4 separate regions of the Homo sapiens genome follow, and regions 1, 3 and 4 are each linked to region 2. Evidence: promoter capture Hi-C in 16 types of primary human blood cells and fetal thymus (Javierre and others, 2016). All regions are on one chromosome and are shown on one strand. The core of a region is centred on a gene start or on the middle of the fragment in contact, and the rest is flanking DNA. Distances in the headings are between cores, read along the strand shown. Region 1 holds the start of LINC01968 (long intergenic non-protein coding RNA 1968). Region 2 holds the start of XXYLT1-AS2 (XXYLT1 antisense RNA 2). Region 3 overlaps LINC01968 (long intergenic non-protein coding RNA 1968). Region 4 overlaps LSG1 (large 60S subunit nuclear export GTPase 1).

Evidence for each region. The method cuts DNA at HindIII sites, captures the fragments that hold promoters and counts their contacts. A CHiCAGO score of 5 or more calls a contact.
Region 1: a contact is called between a fragment that was not itself captured here and the fragment with the promoter of XXYLT1-AS2 in region 2, in 1 of 17 cell types (naive CD4 T cells). The highest score is 6.2, in naive CD4 T cells.
Region 3: a contact is called between a fragment that was not itself captured here and the fragment with the promoter of XXYLT1-AS2 in region 2, in 2 of 17 cell types (neutrophils and naive B cells). The highest score is 6.1, in neutrophils.
Region 4: a contact is called between a fragment that was not itself captured here and the fragment with the promoter of XXYLT1-AS2 in region 2, in 7 of 17 cell types (total B cells, M1 macrophages, erythroblasts and 4 more). The highest score is 7.2, in total B cells.

The regions. Positions count from the first base shown.
Region 1 is chr3:194,708,286-194,710,985 of GRCh38, forward strand. LINC01968 (long intergenic non-protein coding RNA 1968) reads left to right here and starts at 136. Exons shown (of 4, transcript NR_037891.1): 1 at 136-862. The region is part of intron 2 of LOC105374292 (a long non-coding RNA gene); the gene reads left to right. The HindIII fragment of the contact is 5,304 bases long and covers 1-2,700 here.
Region 2 is chr3:195,146,486-195,149,185 of GRCh38, forward strand. It overlaps XXYLT1-AS2 (XXYLT1 antisense RNA 2), which reads left to right and starts at 1,386. Exons shown (of 2, transcript NR_102711.1): 1 at 1,386-1,620. All of the region lies in intron 3 of XXYLT1 (xyloside xylosyltransferase 1), which reads right to left. It also overlaps the pseudogene RN7SL36P. RefSeq lists enhancers at 1,104-1,213, 1,454-1,503. The HindIII fragment of the contact is 4,550 bases long and covers 1-1,488 here.
Region 3 is chr3:194,762,994-194,765,693 of GRCh38, forward strand. All of the region lies in intron 3 of LINC01968 (long intergenic non-protein coding RNA 1968), which reads left to right. It overlaps LINC01972 (long intergenic non-protein coding RNA 1972), which reads right to left. Exons shown (of 3, transcript NR_146990.1): 3 at 2,245-2,617. The region is part of intron 2 of LOC105374292 (a long non-coding RNA gene); the gene reads left to right. Among named protein-coding and RNA genes, the nearest start is that of LINC01972, 4.4 kb to the right of the region's middle. The HindIII fragment of the contact is 6,875 bases long and covers 1-2,700 here.
Region 4 is chr3:194,655,750-194,658,449 of GRCh38, forward strand. The region is part of intron 7 of LSG1 (large 60S subunit nuclear export GTPase 1); the gene reads right to left. Among named protein-coding and RNA genes, the nearest start is that of LSG1, 15 kb to the right of the region's middle. The HindIII fragment of the contact is 4,490 bases long and covers 1-2,700 here.

The DNA.
Region 1 (2,700 bases), core at 141-2,640, 440 kb before region 2:
TCTGTATGGGGCTGCTTGTGCATCCTCACAACATGGCAGCCAACTTCCTCCTGAGTGAATGATCCAGGAGAGATCAAGGTAGAAACTGCAATGCCTTTTATGACCTCACCTCAGAAGTCACACATCATCATTTCCACAATGTCACAGTGGTTATACAAGTGAGTCCTGTTCAGCGTGGGAGGAAATAACACAAGAGGCAAAGATCACTCGGGACCACCTTGTATATTGGCTACCACAGAACCCAACACAAGCAGTAAGTTAAAATCATGAAGCTCCTGACGTCAGAGGACATGGCTCTGCCATTTGTTAGGTAGGGATCCTGTTAAAGGCTCAGCTTCCTCATCTGGAAATGGAAATATAGGCCTTGCCTGGTTTGCTGTAATGGGTCGTGATGAGGACCAAACTACAAAGAGTGGTACAGATGTTAATTACAATGATTTTTCCTATGCCACCCATGGAAACAAAAATAGCAAGATAGAGAAGGCTAAATCCCAGTTTTTTTTGACTGCTATTCAGCAAAGCCTAGGAGACTTTCATGACACCTGGAGAGGCGGCCGTAGTGTATGTGTAAGAGTACCGGTTCCAGAGTGGGGCTCCCCGAGCTCAGCCCCACCACTTACCAACAGCGGACCTTGGGCCAGATGCTGAAGCCCTTTGTGCCTTGGTTTCCTGACCTATTACTGTGGAAATGATGACAGTACCCTCCTCATGGCATCGTGAGAATTAAATTAGCTAATTCAGGTGAAGCATTTAGAAGAGGACCTCCTGACACTTAATAACTGCTTGATATAAATAATAGCTTCTGCTACAGAGTGGCCATGAAGTCTGGACATGTAGATATTATATTATCATGCATCATAAGGTAATACCAACAAACCATTTATTATATATTCACCTGTTTCCAGATTTAATAGCCAACCTATATTAGTGCTCTGGTCCTAAATGTCCATGCAGTTTACTGTGCTCTTTGGTTGTATCTCTAATCCAGGTAGTTGATCTGGTGTGAGATTCCAACCTCGTGTGAGAGAGGAGAAGACCTTCATTACACTAATTCATGCTGGCCCAGCCTCCAGGCCACCCCAGATGTGAGGTGCTGTTAACACTGCTCTCAGGTGCATTGCTCAGCCCAGTGGGACCTTTTATGACACCAGCACACAGAGTAGAACAGATGTCCCTGTGCTAAGTTGATTTTGCAAACTGCAGTGGCCAGCCCCATAATGGCATAAAGATGTGCTTTACCCCAAAGGGGACAGGGTATTAGAAAACAGTTGAAAAGGCTTCTGAACAACATGTGAGGGTGCCCGGGAGAGGAATGCTCCAGATAGGGAAGGTCTGGGGCTGCAGAGATGTAGCCCATGTTAATAAGACACGTAACTCTGAGCACGTAAAACTCTTGAGCCTAGAAACTGGTAGCACTGATGGCGTTTAAATTACGTTATGAAACAACTCTTTGAAAATAATTTAACAGTTTCTATAAATACCCAGCTCTCTGGTTTGTGTAAAGGCCTTTTTTTTTTCTTTTCTTTCTTTCTTTTTTTTTTTTTTTTTGAGACAGAGTCTTGCTCTGTCACCCAGGCTGGAGTGCAATGGCATGATCTCGGCTCACTGCAACCTCTGCCTCCTGGGTTCAAGTGATTCTCCTATCTCAGCCTCCCAAGCAACTGAGATTACAGGCGCCTGCCACCACGCCCAACTAATTTTTTGTGTGGTTTTTTTTTTGTATTTTTAGTAGGGACGGGGTTTCGCCATGTTGGCCAGCCTGGTCTCGAACTCCTGACCTCAGGTGATCCATCCGCTTCGGCCTCCCAAAGTGGTGGGATCACAGGTGCAAGCCACCGTGCCCAGGCTGCTATCTTATTTTCAAGAATTTGACTCACGTCTTTCTGAAGAACATCTATCACTTAGAATGGCTTTCCCAAAATATGTTTTTAGAACACTAATCCCATGGAATGTTACGGGCATGGCATTAAAAAAGGTTTCAGTGATCAAATGAACTTGGGAAACACTGGGTCAAATATTCTTGAAGATGTTTCTTTTTAAAAGAAATTGTCAGAGCCTTTCATATGCTAATATGTCTCATGATTCTCTATGAGTGATAAAATCTATAGTTTCCCCTACATTTATTTAACCACAAACCCTGTTTTTGGAAGAATATATTTCAGAATAAGTATTCAGTGGAATCTAGATATAGGAAAGTGTAGACCCAATAATTGGAAACCTATTGTTTAGTCCGCCCAGTCCGCCTGGCACATCCACTTTTTCCGATAGCACCGTCTCTTCTTCCAAGAACTGCTCCCAGCTCATTCCTGTGGTCTCCAAGGGAACTGGTGTTTTCTTCTGTGTGCCATCCCTTGGCCAAAGTGACCCACCTCCCAGCCACTAAGTCCCTTCCCTGGAAATTTTGAATTTGGGACCAATAATTCTTTTTCTGGTGGTTGAGGCTGCGAGACACAAAACCTAGGCCGAACGCAGTGCTCACGCCTGTAATCCCAGCACTTTGGGAGGCCAAGGCAGGCAGATCACATGAGGTCAGGAGTTCAAGACCAGCCTGGCCAACATGGTGAAACCCCGTCTGTGCTAAAAATACAAAATTTAGCCACGTGTGGTGGTGTGCGCCTGTAATTCCAGCTACTCAGGAGGCTGAGGCAGAAGAATCATTTGAACATGGGAGGCGGAGGTTGCAGTGAGCCGAGATTGCAC
Region 2 (2,700 bases), core at 136-2,635:
GGAGGACAGGGTCTGGTTTCTCTCTACTGCATAGCCAAACCCTCGGCAAATGCCTGCCCAGTGAGCTTTCTATTCGGGCACAGAGTTTGGTCTATCCCAAGAGCACTCTTAGAGGCTACGCCTGCATTGCAAAGCCAAACACCACTCCGAGAGACTTTTCAGAGGAAAGAAGGGAATGTGATACCCACTTCTTAGCATTTTGAAGGCAGAACTCCATTTTTGTTTGTTTGGTTTCTTTTTTTAGAGACAGGGTCTCGCTATGTTGCCCAGGCTGGAGTGCATGGCTAGTCACAGGCGTAATCCCATTACTAATCAGCACAGGAGTTTTAACCTGCTTCATTTCCAGCCTGGGCTGCTTCATCCCTTCCTAGGCAACTTGGTGGTCCCCCGTTCCCAGGAGGTCACCAAGTTGATGCCAAACTTAGTGCAGACACCCACAGAATTCCTGGGCTTAAGTGACCCCCCTGCCTCAGCCTTCCAAGTAGCTGGAACTACAGGTGCAGGCTACCATGCCCAGCTGAAGGCAGAATATTAAGCTGAGGGAGAGGTGAGCCACTCAGTAAAATTTACAGTTCCTACAGCAAAAAGTCTATGTATCTTGTCCATGGGATATCTCTAAACAGCAGTACTGACTCAGTGTTGACACCGCAGGCATTTGCGTTTTCATTAAGTTTTATCTACCCTATCTCCCTCACGTTATATCTTCCTTGAAAGCAAGAGGCATGTCTTCTACTTCGTAATTCCTCATGGGACCAATCCTATGGCTCACACACACAATGAGCCAAATAAAAAACTGAGAATAGGCTGGGCATGGTGACTCACACCTGTAATCCCAGCACTTTGGGAAGCCCAGGCAGGTGGATCACCTGAGGTCAGGAGTTCGAGACCAGCCTGGCCAACATGATGAAACCCTGTCTCTACTAAAAATACAAAAATTAGCCAGGCATGGTGGTCAGCGCCTGTAATCTCAGCTACTTGGGAGGCTGAGGCAGGAGAATCGCTTGAACCCGGGAGGCGGAGGTTGCAGTGAGCCAAGATCACACCACTGCACTCCAGCCTGGGCGACAAGAAAGAAACTATGTCTCAAACAAACAAACTGAGAATAACAAACTTTCCCATGGACTGTCTTTACAAACAAAAACTGAATGTGAAAGTAACTTCTCTAAGACCAGTAATGGGACTACAGAGCCTGACTTAGCAGCTGGCCAGCACCGCGGAGGAAACGCCCTCTGACTACACATCTGTTCCTGCATTCACTCAACAAACATCGAAGTGCCTGGCATTGGTCTGCACGGCATAAACAGAACAGAAGGGCTGCCTCCCAGTCCCACCCCTTCCACGCATTCACTTCCTCACTCATTCTTTCAGGAGACACCTGTGTCAGGCACGACGTGGTGAACTTTTAAAAACGGATTCAGTAGTACCAAAATACTCATAATGTGCAGACAGACAAAAGAACTGGAAGGAGTCGTGTTTTCAGACACAGGAAGCTTTTCACGTGCTCCACCTGGACCTCATCTCTCAGCCTCACACTCCGATCTTCAGCAGCCCCCGCTATGCGCCCGAGTCTTGGGACGTCATCCCGGAGCTCCTAGCCTGCCCGGGAGGCAGAGCCATCAGGTAAGAGACGGTCACAATGACAGCAACACAATCCCGCTTGGGTTCTCTGTACAGAGTTTTCCTTTTAAAATACCTTTTCCACTGATGTTATTTAAAAATAACAACCTCAGAGTAGACTTCTGATCTCTACCACAGGGCAGGTACATCCCTCCCTTTTTATGAGTAATTCCTGCAGGGGTTATAGCACGGCCTCCAGGTCACACGGGCTACACAAAAACACTTAGCCCAGTTTTCTAACTCCCAGGGAGTGAAGGAATCACTATTTTAAAAGGTGGCAAGCTTTTTTCTCCTTTACTCAGATTTAACTCTGATAGAAACTGACAGGCTCAATCTTGGTTAATTTTTTTTTTTTAAACACGAGAACAAGGTTCAAGAAATTCATCTTCAGGTGTCAGAGAGACGAAAAGAACCCAATAGCTTTTATCTTCAAGTCCTACATTTATGCATCTCGTAATGAGGGTGATGGCTGGTTCCCTTACAACGGAGGGCTTCATGCCTAGTGAACAACGGACCTGAATTTATATCAGCCATAAAGCCTTCCAGACGTGACGGTCACGCTAACATCCTGACATGAGGCAATCTGCAGAGAGATGGAAAGTGTGCTTGGCTAGAGGTTAGTGCTGCCTCTCTCTATTTTCTTCCCTTGTACCAACTGATTTCAGACTGAGGAACTTGAAGACAGAGTGACACTATGAGCTCATATAACTCTCCTCAGCTCTAAACTCGGCCACAGCAGATGTGTTTTTAAGAAACTAATAGACTGAAAATGACATTTACAGACGAAATGCTGTGACGACTGAGATTCGTTTCAAAATAATCAGGGGAAGAGGAAAAGTGGGTGGGAGGAGACATAAAACAAAGATTGGCTAAGGGCTGATAGTTATTGAGGCTGCATGGATATTATAATATTGGGGCATCCAGAAATATTACATGATGCTTTCTACTTTTGTATATGTTGAAAGGTTTTCATAGTAAAAAGAAAAATCATACCAAGAGACCAGCAACATTTATCAAAGAAGGCTGACTTAGGTATAAGGATGGTCAAGATACACTGTTAAGTGAACAAAAAAAGATGTACAA
Region 3 (2,700 bases), core at 181-2,680, 380 kb before region 2:
GAGCATTCTAATGGCTGCTTCACTCTCTTTTCTCCAAGGTAGCCTCTTATGGAGAGGCCATCTAGGTACAGCAGTTAGGAGCCTGAGCTCCAAAGCCAGATGGCTTGAGCTGGAATCCTTCCTTCTACTTCTGTCTGTGCCCCCTATTTCTTACCCTTAAAGTGGGGTTGAACACAGCACCTACCTGATAGCATTCTTGTGGCAAATCAATGAATTTGAATGCATATGAAAACAGGACCGGCCAGGTGCAGTGGCTCACGCCTGTAATCCCAGCACTTTGGGAGGCCAAGGCGGGTGGATCACCTGAGGTCAGGAGTTCGAGACCAGCCGGGCCAACATAGTGAACCCTTGTCTCTACTAAAAATACAAAAATTAGCCTGGAGTGGTGGTGTGCACCTGTAATCCCAGCTACTCGGGAGGCTGAGGCACGAACATCACTTGAACCTGGGAGGTGGAGGTTGCGGGGAGCCGAGATCGAGCCACTGCACTGCAGCTAGGGTGACAAAGCGAGACTCCATCTCAAAAAAAAAAAAAAAAGAAGGAAGCCAGACCACACACCATCAGCGTCTTCACAGGCCCCTTGGGATATCATTCATGATAAATATTTTATTTATTTATTTATTTGAGATGGCATCTCACTCTGCCGCCCAGGCTGGAGTGCAGTGGTGCGATCTCGGCTCACTGCAACCTCTGCTTCCTGGGTTCATGTGATTCTGCTGCCTCAGTCTCCCAAGTAGCTGGGATTACAGGTAGGTGCCACCACACCCGGTGAATTTTTTTTGTATTTTTTAGTAGAGATGGGGTTAGGCAGGCTAGTCTAGAACTCTTGACCTCAGGTGATCTGACTGCTTCAGCCTCCCAAAGTGCTGGGATTACAGGCGTGACCCACCAAGCCCGGCCAGGAAGGACCTGTTTCTAAGACCCACTTTAGAGGAGGGGAGACTCCTCTGGGCTGTGGGGGTAGGAGTTGGACCATAAGCCAGGGCATCTTGGCTTCTCAGGAAAGAACATGGGAGAGAGTTAATGTGTTGCCCATGCAGTCTTCCTTGACCCTCTGATTTTTCATCTTTTCCTGAAAGGCGTGGATTTATTTTATTTTATTTTATTTATTTTATTTTATTATTTTATTTTTTGAGACAGAGTCTCGCCCTGTTGCCCAGGCTGGAGTGCAATGGTGCCATCTTGGCTCACTGCAATCTCCACCTCCTGGGTTCAGGCGATTCTCCTGCCTCAGCCTTCTGAGTAGCTGGGATTACAGGTGTGTGCCACCACGCCTGGCTAATTTTTGTATTTTTAGTAGAGTCGGGGTTTCACCATGTTGGCTAGGCTGGTCTCGAACTCCTGACCTCTAGTGAGCCACCAGCCTCGGCCTCCCAAAGTGCTGGGATTACAGGCATGAGCCACCATGCCCAGCCCTGGATTTATATTTTTGACATATGTAGTGAGTTGCTTGAATGAATTATGCTTCGCTTGAGTCTTAATCATGTAGTAAAATTGACTTCCTCTTTGAGGTGATGTCAAAGAGTGTAGGATGAAGACGGGGAGCGTTCCAGTGCTACTCTGTTTGGGAAGGAGAGGAAGAAATGCTATTTTCAAAACTAGAAAGTCTTCTAAGTTGGCATGATCTAAGTGTATGTTCTCATCTTCTCCGTGCCTCTAGGCTTAGAAGCAAACCAAAATAAAGATGTTATCGCCAGTTCTTTGTTGCCCTTTCAAAAATATCACTGGCTGGGTTTGGGATGATATCATGAAGCCTCTTAGATCTTAATTTTGTTTTCTTTTTGCTTAGTTTTTTTTTCATTAAAAAGATGATTAAGGAAACATCCTCTATATGATAGGTCTATATAAGATTCCCTTTCAGTAAGGCTTTTGTACCAATTTAAAACATTTAGTAGAAGCCAATAGCAGTGGATGTATGGGGCTGAAATTGATCTAATGCTGTGCTATTTAATTTGATTATAGGTTAGATCTCATTACTGAAGGTTCAGCTTTGGCCTAGATTTCTTAGAACAGAAAAGATTTTGGACTCCAGACACTGGCCCACTCATATGAAGCAGTGTGCAATTCCGTGTTATTAAAGTGCAGGACCGCAAGAACACGGAGGCGTTTGTTATTTCAAATCCATTTAGGAATAAGGCGAGGGAAAAGGAAGGAAAGAGGAACGGAGGAAAGAAGAAAGGAGGAAAAGTTGGAAGAAAGGAAGGAAGGAGAGATTCTAGTGAATTTCTGTAGAATTTTTTTTTTCTTTTAAATTTTATTTTTATTTTTTTTGGAGACGGAGTCTCGCTCTGTATCCCAGGCTGGAGTGCAGTGGCGCGATCTTGGCTCATTGCAAGCTCGATCTCGGCTCGTTGCAAGCTCCGCCTCCCGGGTTCCCTCCCGGGTTCACGCCATTCTCCTGCCTCAGCCTCCCGAGTAGCTGGGACTACAGGCGCCCAGTAGAGATGGGGTTTCACCGTGTTGGCCAGGATGGTCTTGATCTCCTGACCTTGTGATCCACCCACCTCAGCCTCCCCAAGTGCTGGGATTACAGGCGTGAGCCACCGCGCCCGGCCAGAATTTATTTCTAAGGGCTTAACATACTGAACACTTTCTAGTATTCTCTGAAGGGAAGATTCTGGAAAATAAAATTAAGAAATGCTTCACTGAAACAAAGCCTCTTCAGGAATTCATCATGAATTTTCCTACCATCAATTTCCC
Region 4 (2,700 bases), core at 52-2,551, 490 kb before region 2:
ATACTACAAGGCTACAGTAACCAAAACAGCATGGTACTGGTACCAAAACAGAGATATAGACCAATGGAACAGAACAGAGCCCTCAGAAATAATGCCACACATCTACAATTATCTGATCTTTGACAAACCTGACAAAAACAAGCAATGGGGAAAGGATTCCCTATTTAATATATGGTGCTGGGAAAACTGGCTAGCCATATGTAGAAAGCTGAAACTGGATCCCTCCCTTACACCTTACACAAAAATTAATTCACGATGGATTAAAGACTTACATGTTAGACCTAAAACCATAAAAACCCTAGAAGAAAACCTAGGCAATACCATTCAGGACACAGGCATGGGCAAGGACTTCATGTCTAAAACACCAAAAGCAATGGCAACAAAAGCCAAAATTGACAAATGGGATCTAATTAAACTAAAGAGCTTCTGCACAGCAAAAGAAACCACCATCAGAGTGAACAGGCAACCTACAGAATGGGAGAAAATTTTTGCAACCTACTCATCTGACAAAGGGCTAATATCCAGAATCTACAAAGAACTCCAACAAATTTACAAGAAAAAAACAACCCCATCAAAAAGCGGGTGAAGGATATGAACAGACACTTCTCAAAAGAAGACATTTATGCAGCCAAAAAACATGTGAAAAAATGCTCATCATCACTGGCCATCAGAGACATGCAAATCAAAACCACAATGAGATACCATCTCACACCAGTTAGAATGGCGATCATTAAAAAGTCAGGAAACAACAGGTGCTGGAGAGGATGTGGAGAAATAGGAAAACTTTTACACTGTTGGTGGGACTGTAAACTAGTTCAACCCTTGTGGAAGTCAGTGTGGCAATTCCTCAGGGATCTAGAACTAGAAATACCATTTGACCCAGCCATCCCATTACTGGGTATATACCCAAAGGATTATAAATCATGCTGCTATAAAGACACATGCACACGTATGTTTATTGCAGCACTATTCACAATAGCAAAGACTTGGAAACAACCCAAATGTCCAACAATGATAGACTGGATTAAGAAAATGTGGCACATATACACCATGGAATACTATGCAGCCATAAAAAATGATGAGTTCATGTCCTTTGTAGGGACGTGGATGAAGCTGGAAACCATCATTCTCAGCAAACTATTGCAAGGACAAAAAACCAAACACCGCATATTCTCACTCATAGGTGGGAATTGAACGATGAGAACACATGGATACAGGAACAGGAACATCACACGCCGGGGACTGTTGTGGGGTCGGGGGAGAGGGGAGGGATAACATTAGGAGATATACCTAATGCTAAATGACAAGTTAATGGGTGCAGCACACCAACATGGCACATGTATATATACGTAACAAACCTGCACATTGTGCACATGTACCCTAAAACTTAAAGTATAATAATAGTAAAATTAAAAAGAAAAAAAAGGCAACCTTAAAAAAAAAAAAAAACGCTTGGCATAGAGTGCTGCTAGTAAGTCCACAAAAGATCACAGAGCTGTATCCTTGGACCTAGCCTGTTCAACGATGTTATCAATGACACAAAAATTCACAGTTAGAAGGCAAGGAAATGCTAACTGCACACTCTAAAATGAACTCTACCTTGGTACTAAACCATTAACATATTTAAAAGGAACAGTACTCTCCTAAGTTGAGGTAAAACAGAACAAATATCTTTCCATATAAAGATGGGATGAGGTTTGCTTAGTAAGTTTTTTTTTTTTTTTTTTTGATATTTGAGGGATTCGGTTGCTCACAGGTTTAATGAGCCAAGAGCAAACAGCTTCTGAAAGGGGATGAACTAACAGAAACTGAATTAATGTGACTATCCTGATCACAAGAAATATGAATGCTGTGTATACGCCCTAGGCAAATACCACCTGGAATAACGTATTCAATTAGGTGTGGCTAGTTTTGCCTGTGGTCCTGACGCAAGAAGACAGGCACCCAGGATGGGTGTCCCGGAGCTGGTGTCTATGAGGAATATGAAAGCTGAAAATGCACAGCTGCAGGAGAGAACCGAAGGGACAAAGAGTCCTCAGATCAAAGGGTAGGGTGGCTGACTTCGTTTCACTGAATGGAAGAACTTTCTACATTTAGAGGTAAAAAGAAACGAGTTACCTGGTCTCAAGCATCCTGTCGCTTAAAATAGTCAAAGAGAAATATGCAACTTTGACAGGGAAGTGGAGGAAGAAACTCCTTCACATAGTTAGAGGTGAGAGCTTATATACTGAGCTCATGGAGGGGAGGGTGTTGTATTCATAACCCAGCTCAACACACACTCCACGGTCAACAGATGCCTGATAAACAGAGACGGGAGAAAAGGACAGGGAAAAAGACAGTACTTCCTAAGTCTCTCCATCTCTACGATTCTAATTACTAATTTCTTTTCATAGCTGTTGTTATTATTATTATTTTGAGACAGAGTTTCGCTCTTGTTGCCCAGGCTGGAGTGCACTGGCATGATCTCGGTTCACTACAACCTCCGCCTCCCAGGTTCAGCCGATTCTCCTGCCTCAGCCTCCCGAGTAGCTGGGATTACAGGCACCCGCCACCATGCCCGGCTAATGTTGTATTTTCAGTAGAGATGGGGTTTCTCCATGTTGGTAGGGCTGGTCTCGAACTCCCGACCTCAGGTGATCTGCCCCTCTCGGCTTCCCAAAGTGCTGGGATTACAGGAGTGAGCCACGGCACCTGGCCCTC